Regions from separate parts of the Homo sapiens genome. Here regions 1, 2, 3 and 4 are each linked to region 5. The links are contacts of gene promoters, found by promoter capture Hi-C in blood cells and fetal thymus (Javierre and others, 2016). All regions are on one chromosome and are shown on one strand. The core of a region is centred on a gene start or on the middle of the fragment in contact, and the rest is flanking DNA. Distances in the headings are between cores, read along the strand shown. Region 1 holds the start of SENP7 (SUMO specific peptidase 7). Region 2 holds the start of PCNP (PEST proteolytic signal containing nuclear protein). Region 3 overlaps ARL13B (ARF like GTPase 13B). Region 4 overlaps NSUN3 (NOP2/Sun RNA methyltransferase 3). Region 5 holds the start of RIOX2 (ribosomal oxygenase 2).

Evidence for each region. Contacts are between HindIII fragments. The CHiCAGO score rates a contact against its expected background, and 5 or more counts as called.
Region 1: the fragment with the promoter of SENP7 here is called in contact with the fragment with the promoter of RIOX2 in region 5 in 1 of 17 cell types (activated CD4 T cells); the score reaches 5.1 in activated CD4 T cells.
Region 2: the fragment with the promoter of PCNP here is called in contact with the fragment with the promoter of RIOX2 in region 5 in 1 of 17 cell types (activated CD4 T cells); the score reaches 5.9 in activated CD4 T cells.
Region 3: a contact is called between a fragment that was not itself captured here and the fragment with the promoter of RIOX2 in region 5, in 1 of 17 cell types (total B cells). The highest score is 7.1, in total B cells.
Region 4: a fragment that was not itself captured here is called in contact with the fragment with the promoter of RIOX2 in region 5 in 2 of 17 cell types (total B cells and activated CD4 T cells); the score reaches 7.1 in total B cells.

What each region holds. Positions count from the first base shown.
Region 1 is chr3:101,511,815-101,514,514 of GRCh38, reverse strand. SENP7 (SUMO specific peptidase 7) reads left to right here and starts at 1,303. Exons shown (of 24, transcript NM_020654.5): 1 at 1,303-1,424. The coding sequence starts at 1,385. The HindIII fragment of the contact is 4,750 bases long and covers 536-2,700 here.
Region 2 is chr3:101,572,826-101,575,525 of GRCh38, reverse strand. It overlaps PCNP (PEST proteolytic signal containing nuclear protein), which reads right to left and starts at 1,346. Exons shown (of 5, transcript NM_020357.3): 1 at 1,247-1,346. The coding sequence starts at 1,310. RefSeq lists enhancers at 827-986, 1,007-1,166, 1,247-1,376, 1,477-1,746, 1,190-2,135. The HindIII fragment of the contact is 5,212 bases long and covers 1-2,700 here.
Region 3 is chr3:94,049,318-94,052,017 of GRCh38, reverse strand. It overlaps ARL13B (ARF like GTPase 13B), which reads right to left. Exons shown (of 10, transcript NM_001174150.2): 8 at 2,496-2,612; 9 at 1,126-1,194. Among named protein-coding and RNA genes, the nearest start is that of DHFR2, 12 kb to the left of the region's middle. The HindIII fragment of the contact is 629 bases long and covers 1,028-1,656 here.
Region 4 is chr3:94,067,367-94,070,066 of GRCh38, reverse strand. All of the region lies in intron 2 of NSUN3 (NOP2/Sun RNA methyltransferase 3), which reads right to left. Among named protein-coding and RNA genes, the nearest start is that of NSUN3, 5.7 kb to the right of the region's middle. The HindIII fragment of the contact is 2,789 bases long and covers 1-2,700 here.
Region 5 is chr3:97,971,097-97,973,861 of GRCh38, reverse strand. RIOX2 (ribosomal oxygenase 2) reads left to right here and starts at 1,431. Exons shown (of 10, transcript NM_153182.4): 1 at 1,431-1,481. It overlaps LOC124909398 (a long non-coding RNA gene), which reads right to left and starts at 1,209. Exons shown (of 2, transcript XR_007095976.1): 1 at 52-1,209. RefSeq lists a silencer at 1,247-1,686 and an enhancer at 1,957-2,216. The HindIII fragment of the contact is 3,966 bases long and covers 1-2,240 here.

The sequences.
Region 1 (2,700 bases), core at 54-2,553, 3.5 Mb before region 5:
GTGCCACTGCACTCCAGCCTGGGCGACAGAGCGAGACTCCGTCTCAAAAAAAAAAAAAAGTTAATTTGTGAGGAAACTGAAAATTCAATTATTTTTCAGAAAGCAATGTTTTTGTTAAACAGAAATTAACCAAATAAAACGAAATCCTTACAGTAAACTTCAATCCCAGCAAGACTTAAAGTATTTCTGCTTTGCAGTCATTCCTGCCATGTAGAACACTTCCCCAGGCCCAACACCCCACAACACCTGGGGCCTTACCTCTACCTGGGGACTGACCACATTATAATTAAGAAGGCTTAACTCACGATGAAGGGGACTGCTCTAGTGGACGAGTTGGGCCGATCCCTTTATTGACTCCGTTAGGATGGGAGATGGGGGTTGGAGGGATAGGCGTTAGGGGTATAAAGGGGCCAGCTTGGGAATCAAACCCTACTTCCAGAGTCCCTTCGGGCTTTGAACATGCCAGAAACATTTTCCCTGCTTAGAGCACTGTGCTGAATTTTGTTAAACTTGTGATTAAATCGTCATGAAAGCTTACACGTGCATTTAAAAATTATTCAGATATGCACCATTAGGGATAATCAGGCTAATAGTACCAGACCTTGAGTTCATTGAGGACTGGATTAGTCCCTTAAGTATCGTGGTAAATGTTAATTGAACAAATTCCAAGTTTATAGCCACCCACTTTCTGTCATATCAGCATTTCAGTTATTGAAAAATTAAGTTCTAGCTTTTCTTTTAAGGAACTTTAAAAATCACAAGTTCGAATTTTAAAAAGGAATCCTAAGACATTTTTCCTCGTCTGCTGACATATTTCCACAGCAAATGCTAAACTAATAGCTAGGCTATTATTAGGTGATTTTGCCATCTTAAAATCTTTTGGTTTCTGAGTTCGAGGAAAGGCGTTGGGGGCAAATATGTAAGAGAGGCTGTGAGGGATGTAATACTGCAAACGCTAACGTTTTGTTTTCATAGTTGTTTGGCCACCTCGCGAGATCCAGTGAACCGGAGGAGTTCCTGTTTTTCCCTTTTAATTTTTGTCAATCTAATCTTCAAAGTCAACAAAGCTAAAATCGAGCACCCAGGTGGTTCACCTCCCCAGAGGGGCTCAGATCATGAAATAAACGCCACCAAAAAAACGCTGGAAGAGGCAGCCCACAGTGAAAAGTCCCAGGAAGTGATTTCCGGTCGAAGGTGGGAGGGGCGGCTGATTTCCGGTCGAAGGGCAGGCGACGGCTCTTGCGCAAGCGCGCTTCGCACTTTGCGGGCTTTTTTTTTTTTTTTTTTTTTTTTTTTTTTTTCCTTTCCCCTCCCCCTCCCTCTCCAAGCCGGAGGGGTCCTGAGGTGACAGCGCCTGCAACTGAAATTTCAGCAGCGGGAGAAGATGGACAAGAGAAAGCTCGGGCGACGGCCATCTTCATCCGGTGAGAAAGGGTCAGAGAAGGGCTGAACATATTGTCTCCTACCCGGGGGAAACGGGAGGCGCAGGCGGCAGCTGGGGTTGCGGCCCGAAGCCGCGGGGGCGAGGGCGGGGGCGGGGAGAGGAAGGGGCGCGCACAATGGAAGGCTCCCGGGTCGCCCCCGCCCCTGGAGTCGAAGACCCGGTCCGAGCTGTCATCGAAGCCTCGGGCGCTCTTCACCTCAAAACCCCTTTTATTTTTTCCCTCCTCCCGCGAACACCCTCCTTGCGTCTCATCGGCCCATGGATCTTCCCGGTTGGCTTGTCACTCTCTGCCACGCCTTCCTCGTAATTCCACCAATGTTCCAATTTCATTTCGGCTTCTCAGCGCCTGACCCCACTTTCCTCTCTTCCTTTGATTCTCGACTTTGCGTCCCTTCCCCTCTCCCTCCTCTTTCCCTCAGCAGGTAGCTGCTGCTGGGGAGGAAAGGTGGGGCTTGCGACCGGAGACTCCTTTTCTTTGATACAATGCCTCTCCGGGTCTCGTTCTGCTGAACAGGCCCGCCTAATAGCCTTTTTCTTTTCCAGCCTACCCTGCGTCTTCCAAAAGTGATTGGAAAGTCAAACAAAGGATTTGAAGCCGTGCTTTCGTTGTGTTTTTATTTTCAGCATATTTTTTGTTTTGGACGTTACTTTGTTTTAAATGACTATCTTCAGTTTTGTGTACAACGTCTTGGAAACAAGAAAGTGGAGTTATAAAAACGTGAGGTAGAGCTCCTCCCAGTTGAGAAGTTTTTATCAAACATTTCATCCATTAGGGGGTCCTCAAGTCCTTGTGTTAAGTCCTATGGATGGTAGGAGGAGAGGACGAGGACTCATATGCTTACAGTCCAGTACACAAACGAACGCCCAATGAATCAATTATTTCATTTCATTTTTCTGTTTCTGATGGTACCGTTGGTTTCTGCAGAGACAGTTAACAATTACAGATTTATTGGCCGGGCGCGGTGGCTCACGCCTGTAATGCCAACACCTTGGGAGGCCGAGGCGGTCGGATCACAAAGTCAGGAGATCGAGACCATCCTGGCTAACATTGTGAAACCCCGTCTCTACTAAAAAATGCAAAAAATTAGCCGGGCGTGGTGGCGGGCGCCTGTAGTCCCAGCTACTCAGGAGGCTGAGGCAGGAGAATGGCGTGAACCCGGGAGGCGGAGCTTGCAGTGAGCCGAGATCGCACCACTGCACTCCAGCCTGGGCAACAGAGCGAGACTCTGTATCAAACAACAACAACAACAAAAAAA
Region 2 (2,700 bases), core at 97-2,596, 3.6 Mb before region 5:
AAATTGTTCTTTCATAAGGTATTTTACTAGTTATAAAAAAAAAAAAAGACAGGGGGTGGGGAGGGAAGAGAGAGATGGAGTTCCAGCTTAACTAACAGAATTGTACGTGTTTTTTAAAAAGGAAATCCTGGGTCCAAAGTAATTAACATTACACTTAATCTTTTCAATAATTTTTGTTCCCAAGGCAATTAACATGAAACATTATGTTAGTAGGTCTACTAGTGGCCTTCATATGCTATTAATCGTTTCTATTTTCTCATATTAAATAATTTCGGGAATGATAACTAAGGTGGTCAGAATAGAGAATAATGTTTAAAATGTTCTAAAAACATTTTAAACAGCTCGCACGTGTTAAGTCACTTGTCTTGTTATGTGCAAAGAGGGAGCTGGAGAGATTACGTTTCTTTTCCTTCACGCACAAGACCCGAATTTAGGGAGTGGAATGGACAGAATAAGGATAGCTGTAACCTGAGTTTAACGTCGTAACAAAATACAGGAAGAGTCACGCTAGACTATTTAGTCGCCTAAGTATCTGGCAAGCGGTCAGCTGGCAACAGCCTAAGGGAGATACTTCAAAGAAAAGCAACCAAACCTTAGCCCTAGACCCCGCAGCTTAAACCAGAGGGCAGGCAAAGGCATTCCTCTTCCCCTCCATCACCTCGGCCCATCCTGTCACAGGGTCAATATTAAACTTGGAAGTAAAGGAAAGAGAGCAGGCCGGAGTTGTCCACCTCCTCAGTGAAAAGGGAGCAGCAAGCGTAATTAACTCCTGCGTGTAACTGAGAGGCCGGCACCGTCAGAAACTCAGCCTGCGGCCAGTTCCCGCGGCAACTACTCGGTGGCTCGCACTGTGTGTATGTTATGTCTCATGAGCGTCTCCGGTGTGTGTGTTTTGTGTGATGTGCGTCTCCGGTGTGGCGGTAGCGGCTCCTGCACCGCCGCTCCTGGTCCCACCCCGAGTTCGGTCTCCCTTTCTGGCGCCCATCTCCCTTCTCCTCGGAATCAGGGCCTCCGCTGGGGCCAGGAGGTGACGAACAGTGGCCGGCTCTCCCCAGGCAAGGAGGCGATGTAGGCCCGGAGCCCAGAGGGCCGCATCGGGCGTGCCCGAGGCAGGTCTGGGCCCAACACCTGGCCGGGTGAGGTCCAGATCCGCCCATTCTCGCCCCACCCCACTCCCCCCACCCTGGGAGCTCAAAGAAAGGCCCGGAGCATCCCACGCTGCCCACGACGCTGGGGTTGTGTTCACCTCCGGCGGCTCCAGCTCGCTGCGACTTTTCAGGCTTCTCGTCTCCCGCCTTCCCGTCCGCCATTTTCCCCGCCGCGGCCTCCCCTGCAGCCACGCCAAGGACGTCACGACCCCGCCCAACAACCATCGAGTTTTTGGGGCCAGCCGGCGTGGTGGCAGCCTAGAGCGGTCCCGAGGAATGAAAAGAGGCCGCCTTCGGAAGCGGAAGTGGATGTGATGTCATCGAGTAGCCGCCTCGGAAGGAAGAGCTGGGAAGGTTGGGCGGTCTAAGAGTGCTGGCTAGGCACTTTATTAGAGGGCAGTCAGGTCTTCATGGTCTAGCGACAGGTCCGGAGAAGTGAGGGGAAATGGAGCATCTCCCTGGAAACGCTGGGATCTTAGAAGGTTTCTGCATACCCAGATGTGGTTGCAGCTGAGGCTGAGAGTGTCTTCCGTTCCGGCCTTGCTGGATAACGCATGCCTGCCAACTCTATGTAAACAAAAAGCCTGCATTCTTTTTCCCTAAAGGGGAAATCAGTGTTTATCTAGCGCCCCCTAGCTTCAGACGCCTTTCATACACTCGTTTAATCACGGCGATTGTCCAAATATAGAATTCTCCTCTCAATTACCTGTAAGAGTTGAGGTCAGAGAGAGTAATTTGTCTAAGTCACGTAGCCAACTGTAAAGTTACTTTTTGTATAGTCTGCTTCTACCAAGTTGAGAAACTACTATGTCAAGTTAAGACTGCAGTAATTTCTGCCTTAATAAGAAACCTTTAGTGGATTCCTACAGTCTGCATTCTGAAGTCCGTGAGTTACATTAGGCCCTAGCCTACCTTTTCGGCTTCATCTTCCCCCTTTCTCAGTATTTATCCAGCCCTCCTAGCCAAATGGGGTCTATTACTTGCTTAGGGAACTGGAGTTTCTGGGTTTGTCTTACCATATATAGTTAGAGAAAGTCTTAGGAGTCAGAACTTGGATTTGAATCTGTTTTGCCCTTTCCTGCTTGAGTAACCTTGAGACTTGCTTACTGCCTACAGAGCTACCTTTTCTTCTCTATAAAAGAGCAATAATAATAGTACCTCCTCAAAGAGTGGTAATAGGGATCAAATGAGATCATCTTTGTATACCATTATTTGGTCACTTCATACTTCCCTCAGTTTGTGTGTGTGTGTGTGTGTGTGTGTGTTTTAAGTGTTGTCTCTCTGAATGGCTCAAAAGTTCCTTGACAACAGAGACCAGTTTTTAAAAACTGTGTACTGTGCGTTTCATATATGAATATAAAAAGTGTTCAATATTTGCGGATGGATTACTTCTCGGGCTTCAAGTCCAGGGAGTGGAGAAAGAATGAAGAAATTATCAAAGTGTGTTTCCCATGACAGAAGCAGGGCAGTGTGGTGGTGATTTTGTGATCTAGGTTGAAGTCCCTGATCCATCATTTATCATATATGTAAAAGTAACCAGCAAACTATCTTA
Region 3 (2,700 bases), core at 93-2,592, 3.9 Mb after region 5:
GTAAACTAAACAGAGAGATGAGATTTCACTGAAAATACCACTTCAGTAATTCTGATGGAGTCTAAGGACAAACTTTTCTGTCTTTAAAAAAAAAAAAATTCATGAATTTTCACTAACGATTATCAAGAAATATTTCAATACTGACCTAAATAGAATTCTGGGGGAAAAAAGCAAATAGCACATTTATATTTAAGTACCTTTTAAACAAAAATATTTAAACTGGTTTGATATAATTTCAAATTATATGGTAATGCTTTTCTAAAGAGTAAACTTCTGAGTTTTTTCCTAGTAAGTGAAACCAAGTTCTAGACTAGGTAAACACAGAGCTGTCCAAAAAGGAATTGGATGTTCTTAACAAACAAGTTTATTGAACTACATTTATCTATAATTCTTTTGCATTCTAGAAATATTTTACTGAAGGGACCTAGACTGATGGTCTGTAATCAGAACTTCTCCTTGTTTTATAAGGCAGTTCTCTACTTCTCCTAAATATCCTTCCTCTAGTTTTTGCATCCTAGAATTCTAATGCCATAAACTATCTAGACTATAGCGTATGTTATATTCAAAGAAAACTGTTCTCTTAATTCAATAAAAATGTTAGTAACTTTCTACTTAGTCGAACTTTATTAGGTTTACTGATTTGATCTCTGATTTTATAAACTGTGTTGATCTTTACTTCACTTTAATGTTCAGCAGCTGGTTGTCTTATTAGGAGTAGAGAGAAAAAATTATGTGCCATTATCATTGAGTATATTGAGCATATACAGGAAACTACAGCTTTTAACACTTAAGTTATAAATTCTAATGTCTCATAGTTAAATTATTTTAAAACATTTCCTTTTTATTATAACTCCTTGTATAAATATATCATGGATAATAAACACAAGCTATGATTCTTTTTACCTCTGTATTCTAAGGTAAACACCAAATTAAATGATATAGATGTAAAGCATACTTAAGAATAAAAAATTAAATAAAATGAAAAAAGACGTATAATGAAAAAGGATAGCTGTGGATTTGACAAGCTTCTAAAACTAAAACATAAGTTTGTTGAAATTATAAGGCTAAAGAAAAGTGAATGTGACATGTACAGATGATATCTGAAAACCAATCCTTTTGCATTACCATTATGATGTGTTTCACCAAGAGGCTCAAGTTTTGGAAGTCTAGTGACTTTAGGGGTTCCCCAGCCAACTAAAGAAAAAGAAAAACATTTAAAAAACACTGTTAAACAAGGTTTCTTTAGGTCTGTTGAGAGGATCCCTCCCTGGAAAGGAAGCATATGTAACATTCAATGTCAATTCAAATATATTGAATGACAGTATGGAAAGCCAGAAACCCATTTTAAATGGCTTCTATATTTTAAAATGTAATTATAGGCTGCTAACATCTGCTTTAACTTTTCAGTAGCTTTTAATAAAAACTATAAGCACCTTCACCACTATCAAAAACAAACTCATGCTATCATTCTAACTCTAGGCAGAAACTAAATATTTTCTTAATAAATGGAATACTGGAAATGAGTCTATAAGAGATTCTTAAAATGTTACCAAATAATTTCTAAAGCCTTGTAGCAGGGCTATAAGGGCACTATACACATATTTATCTAGTCATTACATATTTACTGACCACCTATAGTAGGTGAGGTGCTAAGCTTAGTGCTGAAAAGTTACTCAAAATTATTGTGCAAGTTAAGTCCCAGTGTTTTATATGCATTACTCCATTTAATCCTCGTAACAACTTAGGACATGGGTATGTATATTGAAAATGTATTAGAAAAAATTAATACATCTTGGTTTCAAACATTAACTTTCAGGATGAAAGGTCCAATTTTTTTTTTTTTTTTTTTTTCCCGAGATGGAGTCTCACCCTGTCACCCAGGCTGGAGTGCAATGGAGTGATCTTGGCTCACTGCAACTTCTCCATCCCAGGTTCAAGCGATTCTCCTGCCCCAGCCTCCTGAGTAGCTGGGATTACAGGCATGTGCTACTACGCCCAGCTAATTTTTTTTTTTTTTTTTTGTATCTTTAGTAGAGACGGGGTTTCACCAAGTTGGCCAGGTTGATCTCGAACTCTTCACCTGGTTATCTGCCCGCCTCGGCCTCACAAAGTGCTGGGATTACAGGTGTCAGCCACCATGCCGAGCCGGTTCAATGTTTTAAAAACTCATGTTAGCCATCCATCGTGAAACTTAAATTAACATGTGGGTACTGATATTTCAAATAGAACTTGAACATATTCTAGGAAATACTGGGTAAAATTTTCTTAATAGTTTTTACTTATTTTTTTCTTTATAAAACATTTTTTTATTCAAAAAAGCAATGGACATTTGTGTTAGCAAATTTTGTCCAAATCAGAGTAAAAGATTCTTCTTCACAAGTATACAAGATAATGAATATACAGAATAAAAATGACAAGATTCCTTTTTTCTTTTTTTTTTTCTCTGTTGTTTAAAGCAATATTTCTAAATTCAGTATCAGTATCAATTTACTCACCAGGAGGAGGGGGTGGGGGTGGCGTTGGACTCTCAGGAGCACAGTCATCTATATTAAGTGGTTCTACCCGGTGGTTCCTTTTCATTCTTAGTTTCTTAGTTTTCTTTTTACCATTAGCTACAAGAATATAAACATGAAACTTCATGTCTTTATGAAAAAGTGCACTTTTATAATAGAAAACAAAGAATACAACAAGAATACTGAT
Region 4 (2,700 bases), core at 145-2,644, 3.9 Mb after region 5:
AAATTCCTAAGAAACAAAAGAAAAATAAATTCCTAAGAAACAAAAGAAAAATTCCTAAGAAACAAAAGAAAAATATTAAAACTGACCAAAAAAAAATTAAGTAAAACTAGACAGATGGTACACAAGAATAACTGAATTTTGAGAAACAGTTAATGAAGCTAAACTAATATATCACACTGTGTGTCACCCTGCCTGCTTACCCATTTCCCTAACTCATTTATATGGGAGCCTTGACTTATTTTTCTCCTTGGCTAAGTGCCTGGGGCCTAAATCCTGGAGTAAATGAATAAAATTGGAGTTCTGATTCAAGGCTCTCTGAACTACTTACTATTTTAACAAAATTAAAGCATTAAAAAATTAAAAGCTAGTTAAGTTAAAATTTTGCAAAACTGTATAATGTATCATTTCGATAATGTTTATTATTTGATAGTATAATTTTCATTCAACTTTTCTGTGACTTTATTCTTTTTTCCTACTACTCTACTCTCCACCCTACCTTCCGTCCTAGTGACGAAGATGAAAAATATCATTTAATCTAGAAATTGTTAAACACAATTAATATAACCCTGTAGATTACAGAACCTATTTAAATTTCCATAGCTAAAAAAGAGAAATTCCTTGATTTAGTGCTATTATTATCCACTAGAGGGTGCTCATTCAACTCTTTTAAAAGTTAGAAATGAAAAACAAATCAATTTATGGAAATGCACCAAAGTATGTTTTTGAGTCATTTTATTTTTACTCCTCAGAGATGCTAACGAAGAGCTGATGGCTTCCTATTCTATTTTGGCAATGGATCTTCCTTGTATCTCACAGAAGGGCAATTTATGTCCAGATTTGTTATTCACTGTACCTCAGATAGGAAATCCTTTGCGTTTCTGGTGGAACATCAAAAGGCTAAAAATCCTGAACATAAGAGTCCTTCATACTACGGGATCTGAGCATACATTTGGAAGGATGCAACTCTGGACCCTTCACAGCAGCACAGATGGTATAGGAAAAGGCGTGGACTTTTAAGTCACAGGACTGAATTTGCCACAACTACAAGATACCTATCAATTGTTCTAACCTCTGACTTTAAAGTGTCTAAAAGTTACTTCTTCACAGAGATTTGCACAGATTAAGGCTGAAAATGTGTGTAAAGCCAACATATAGGACAATATAGAAATCTAGATACTGGTTCATTTCTCTCTTTCTTAACCACCTCAGTCTACATCCTTCACAGATTATGGTAATATTATCAGGTTGTGTGTGTGTATGTGTGTGTGTGTGTGTGTGTGTATTTTTTTTTCCTCTCTGTATGTGAACTCTCGGTCAGTGAGGAGAGTGTCCAAAAAAAAAAAGATGTTGCAGACAGTTCAGACTTATATGGTCTGTTTGTTTTGCTTTCTATAAAGTACATGTAAAATTTCCACAGTTAATAAATATTTCTAATTAATGCTTATATTAATCATACATTTATTAAGTATCCATTAATTATCCAATTAATCATACATGTATTTGAGGGCAGGATATATACAGTCCATTTTTGTATTCTCAGTGCTTAGCACAATGCCTAGTACACAAACACTGACAAAACTGGGAATAAGCAGAAGACTTGCCCAAGTCTCAAGGTATTGGTTCTTCAAAACCCTCCCTTGTCAGGAAAAAGATAAGCAAGTTAGTAAATTATGACGATAAAACCTTGAAAGAATCACAATAGCTCTATCAACAAAATGCAATGGATACACGAAGGGCAAAACTAATTTTGCCAAGGGACATACAGAAGGCTTGATGAAGTGGTTAATCATAGTAACAAAAATAATGCTAATGCATATGAAGTCCTTACTATACGTCAAACAACATTCCATTCACATTGTATATACACAAATTCATTTTATCTTCCCAAATGATTATATGAAATAGATACTATTTTTTCCCCATTTTACAGACGAGGACAATGGAGCACAGAGATATTAACTCACCTAGGTCATATGCTACAAGATGCAGAGGTGGGATTTGAACCCACACTACTGCACAGAGGGAGAAGGGAAAAAGGCATTCCTAGCAGAAGAACAGCATAGCCAGTCCCAAAGGCATGAAGGAGCCTGCCCAGAAAGATAAGATTTTTAGTCCAAACATAATACTGCAGACTTCTGGGGAGCAAAGGTTTGTACTCAAGGTGTGACACAATGGAATTTGGTAGCACCGAGAAACAGCATGACAGAGTGGGTACAACAAACTCTCAAGGCTCTTCAAAGTGTTAGATGTGTATACTTGGGCAAGTTAAAGTGTGAGATGTGTATACTTGGGCAAGTTACTTAACCTCTGTGTGCCTCAGCTTTCCTATATATAAATGGAAATAACTATTTCAGAGGGTTGTACATAGGATTGTTATTATTCATAAAGTGATTACAACATTGACTGGTACATAGTGCCATAAAAGTGGTTGCTAAAATAAGCAAACAGGTAAGTACTAAACATGGCTGTTGCAATATGCCAGATAAGAGATTGGGAAGGTCTAAGTGAATGGCAGCAGTAGAGAATTTTTTTAAAAAGATCCAAATTAAAAGGGGGCAGGGTAGTTGAGTCTCAAAGACAACTCTCACTTCTGACACCAATTACAAGTTCAGGGATTCCAAGGATGACTCTCAGGTTTGATTATTCACTGGGACACAACCGAACTCACTGAAAGCTGTTATAATCACAGTTATAGTCACA
Region 5 (2,765 bases), core at 182-2,681:
TTTTTCTACAACCGTACTGCTTTTCCAAGTGGTGGACGTGTGAGAATTTACCTTTATCTGAATCCCGGGAACAGCAATATTATTCTATATTATCTTGAGTAGATGTCTTGCAGTCAAAATAAAGAGCGAAGTACATTACCAATATCATATCAACTAGAGATTTTTGCTGTTGACTATTCTTTTTTACCCTGTAAGGGCTAAATTTGATGTTACCCTCGAGTTTTTCCAACTGGAACCTGCCAGGAAACTTACTAGTTATACGAGTATTAGTAAAACGTGAAAAAGACCAACAGTTGACTGACTGGTTTGGCTCTAATCTTGTTTCTGCATCTTCCTAGCTGTGTGATCTTGTGCAAGTTAGTTAACCTCTCCTGACTCAGTTTCCTCAACTGTAAAATGGAGGTAATTGCAAGGTTGTAGTGAGGATGAAGTGAGGAGTATTTGAAACACCTAGCGTGGTGCCTTATAGCCAGGAAGAACTCAATTCAAGACTTGCTATTATTGTTAGTTTTAGACAAATACTAGACAAGGGTGTACTTTGTTCCCATTTGTTCATGTGCCACTTGATCCTTAGAAGCAGCCACTGGTCTCAGTCACCTTGACGGAACGAAATGTCGACTTCCTCTGGGTCCTCTGGCTGTCTACAGAGCAAAGAAAGGCACAGGCCCGCCACTGATTTCCCTGCTCCCTCATTTGTGCCTCCTGACTGGAACCAAATGTTCCAAAGCAGGGAGTGTTAGGCTGAAAGGACTCAGATAACTGCATTTCTTCTGTTTCTATAGCCATAGTCGCAACGAATTTCCAGTATCTTTTAAAACTAGGATTGACTCTCTCTCCCGGAGCGAGATGATATAAATGACACTCGGCTTGTACAAATCAGCATTGTGTAGCCACACAGCCCATAAGAAAGCCATGGGAGAACCCGGACCACCAACTCCCTAAACTTGCACCGCTGGTATTCCTCTTCAGGCCTGCTTCTCTATTCATAAAAGGAACGGAGTTGCACCAAAACGCTCTCTCAAATCCTCTCCTGCCGCCCCAAGTTAAAAGAAAAAAAAGGAGAGCCGGGTGGGTGGCTCACACCTATAATCCAGCACTTTGGGAGGCCGAGGCAGGAGGATCGCTTGAGCCCGGGAGGTAAAGGTTGCAGTGAGCCAAGATCGCTACCACTGCACTCCAGCCTGGGCGAGAGTGAGACCTTGTCTCACATACCATAAAAAAAAAAAAAAAAAAAAAAAAAAAAAAAAAAAGAGGAAAAAAAAGGCCATTTATTTCCTTCCATATGGACTAAAGAAACGCCCGGGCGTGAACGCGGAACACCGCCGGGTAGCCAGGCCTCCGGGCTGCCACCACTTGCGGGCCGGCGTGGCGGGGCGGGGCGGGGGCTGGAGCACGGCCCGGAGCGTGCCCACGCTGCCCCGCCTCCAGCCGCTGCGCCGCAACGCAGTGGGCTCGCGGCCGCGAGCAACAGGCCGTGCCGGGTGAGTGGGGCGCTCTCGTGGGCATCCCAGCGCCGGGGCAGGCCGGGTAGTGCCCGATCCCGCGGGGCGCGCGCTGCTGCTTTAGGCACCCGGGCTCGGGTGCGGGTCTGGGAGACCTGTCGGTCGGCGAGAAGCCTCGGTGGCCGGCGCTGTGGTTGCGGGACCTGGGACGCGCTCCCAGGCGTCCCACCTCCCCGGAGACTGGGGCAGGGTGGGTGGGGCCCGGATCTAGGGGTAGGGTCGCGGAAGCCTTGGTTACAGAGAGTCGCACACGTGGCCTGCTAATGGTCGCGACACCGGTGACGAGCGCACGGAAAGTTTGGAGGCTTAGCAAGGAGGGTGGTGCCGGCCTCCGCCCGGTGGTGGCAGAACTGCCTGTGCGAGCACGGCTTCCACGTGGGCTGCGCCGCCGGGCGTCATGTCGGGCCTAAGAGACACGCTCTACAGCTGTGAAATCTGAAGTTCAGGTGTGTGGGGAGAAGGGCAGCTGCATTACATCATATGCTTCCAATTCATTTACCAGCAAATAATTCCGCAACGATTGGCCGACAGCTGGGTTGTCCAACAGGTTACTGAGACCAGGTTATTCACTGTTTTCAGGAAGGATAGACTGGGAGGAAGAGGATCTGATTTCGCCACTCATTAGCTGTAAATCTGGTGCCTCGGGTTTCATGTCACTGGGCTCATCTTTGAGCAGAGGAACCTGATTTACTCAGCTTCTTCTGCTGGTACTGGTTTTTGCCTCCTGGACATCAAGCTTTGTAACCTCATGGTCACGAAAATACATTGAGGTATAGTCCGTTTCCTCTCTAAAATCAGACTAAAAAGATAACTGCTGATCACTCCTTTAGGTCAATAGGAGAACCAGTTTTCCCTCTGGATTGATTAACATATCTCTGAGCCAAAAAGAAATGTTTTAGATCAGTCTGGGCAACCTTGTTACAAGCAATATATAATTTCTGACAGCCGTGTGTTTAACTGAGCTGCGTTTGACTGTTGTCCTCCATTAGTGGACCTAAAATTCATCTAGAGAGCGTATTACGTTAATGCAGATTATGGGCCTCAGCCATCAGAAGTGGCAATCCAGTGGGCTTGATGAGGGCCCAGAAATTTGCATGCTAACAACCTTGCTGGTAACTCTGAACTACATTCTGTAAAACTGCCCAGGGGATGTAGAAATTCATACTTCCCTCCCCGATTTAGTAATAACTACTGATGTCTAAAGTGCCTTTTAGCTTTTACGATACTCTTGAATCCTGAAGTGACAGCTGCAATCAGAAAAAT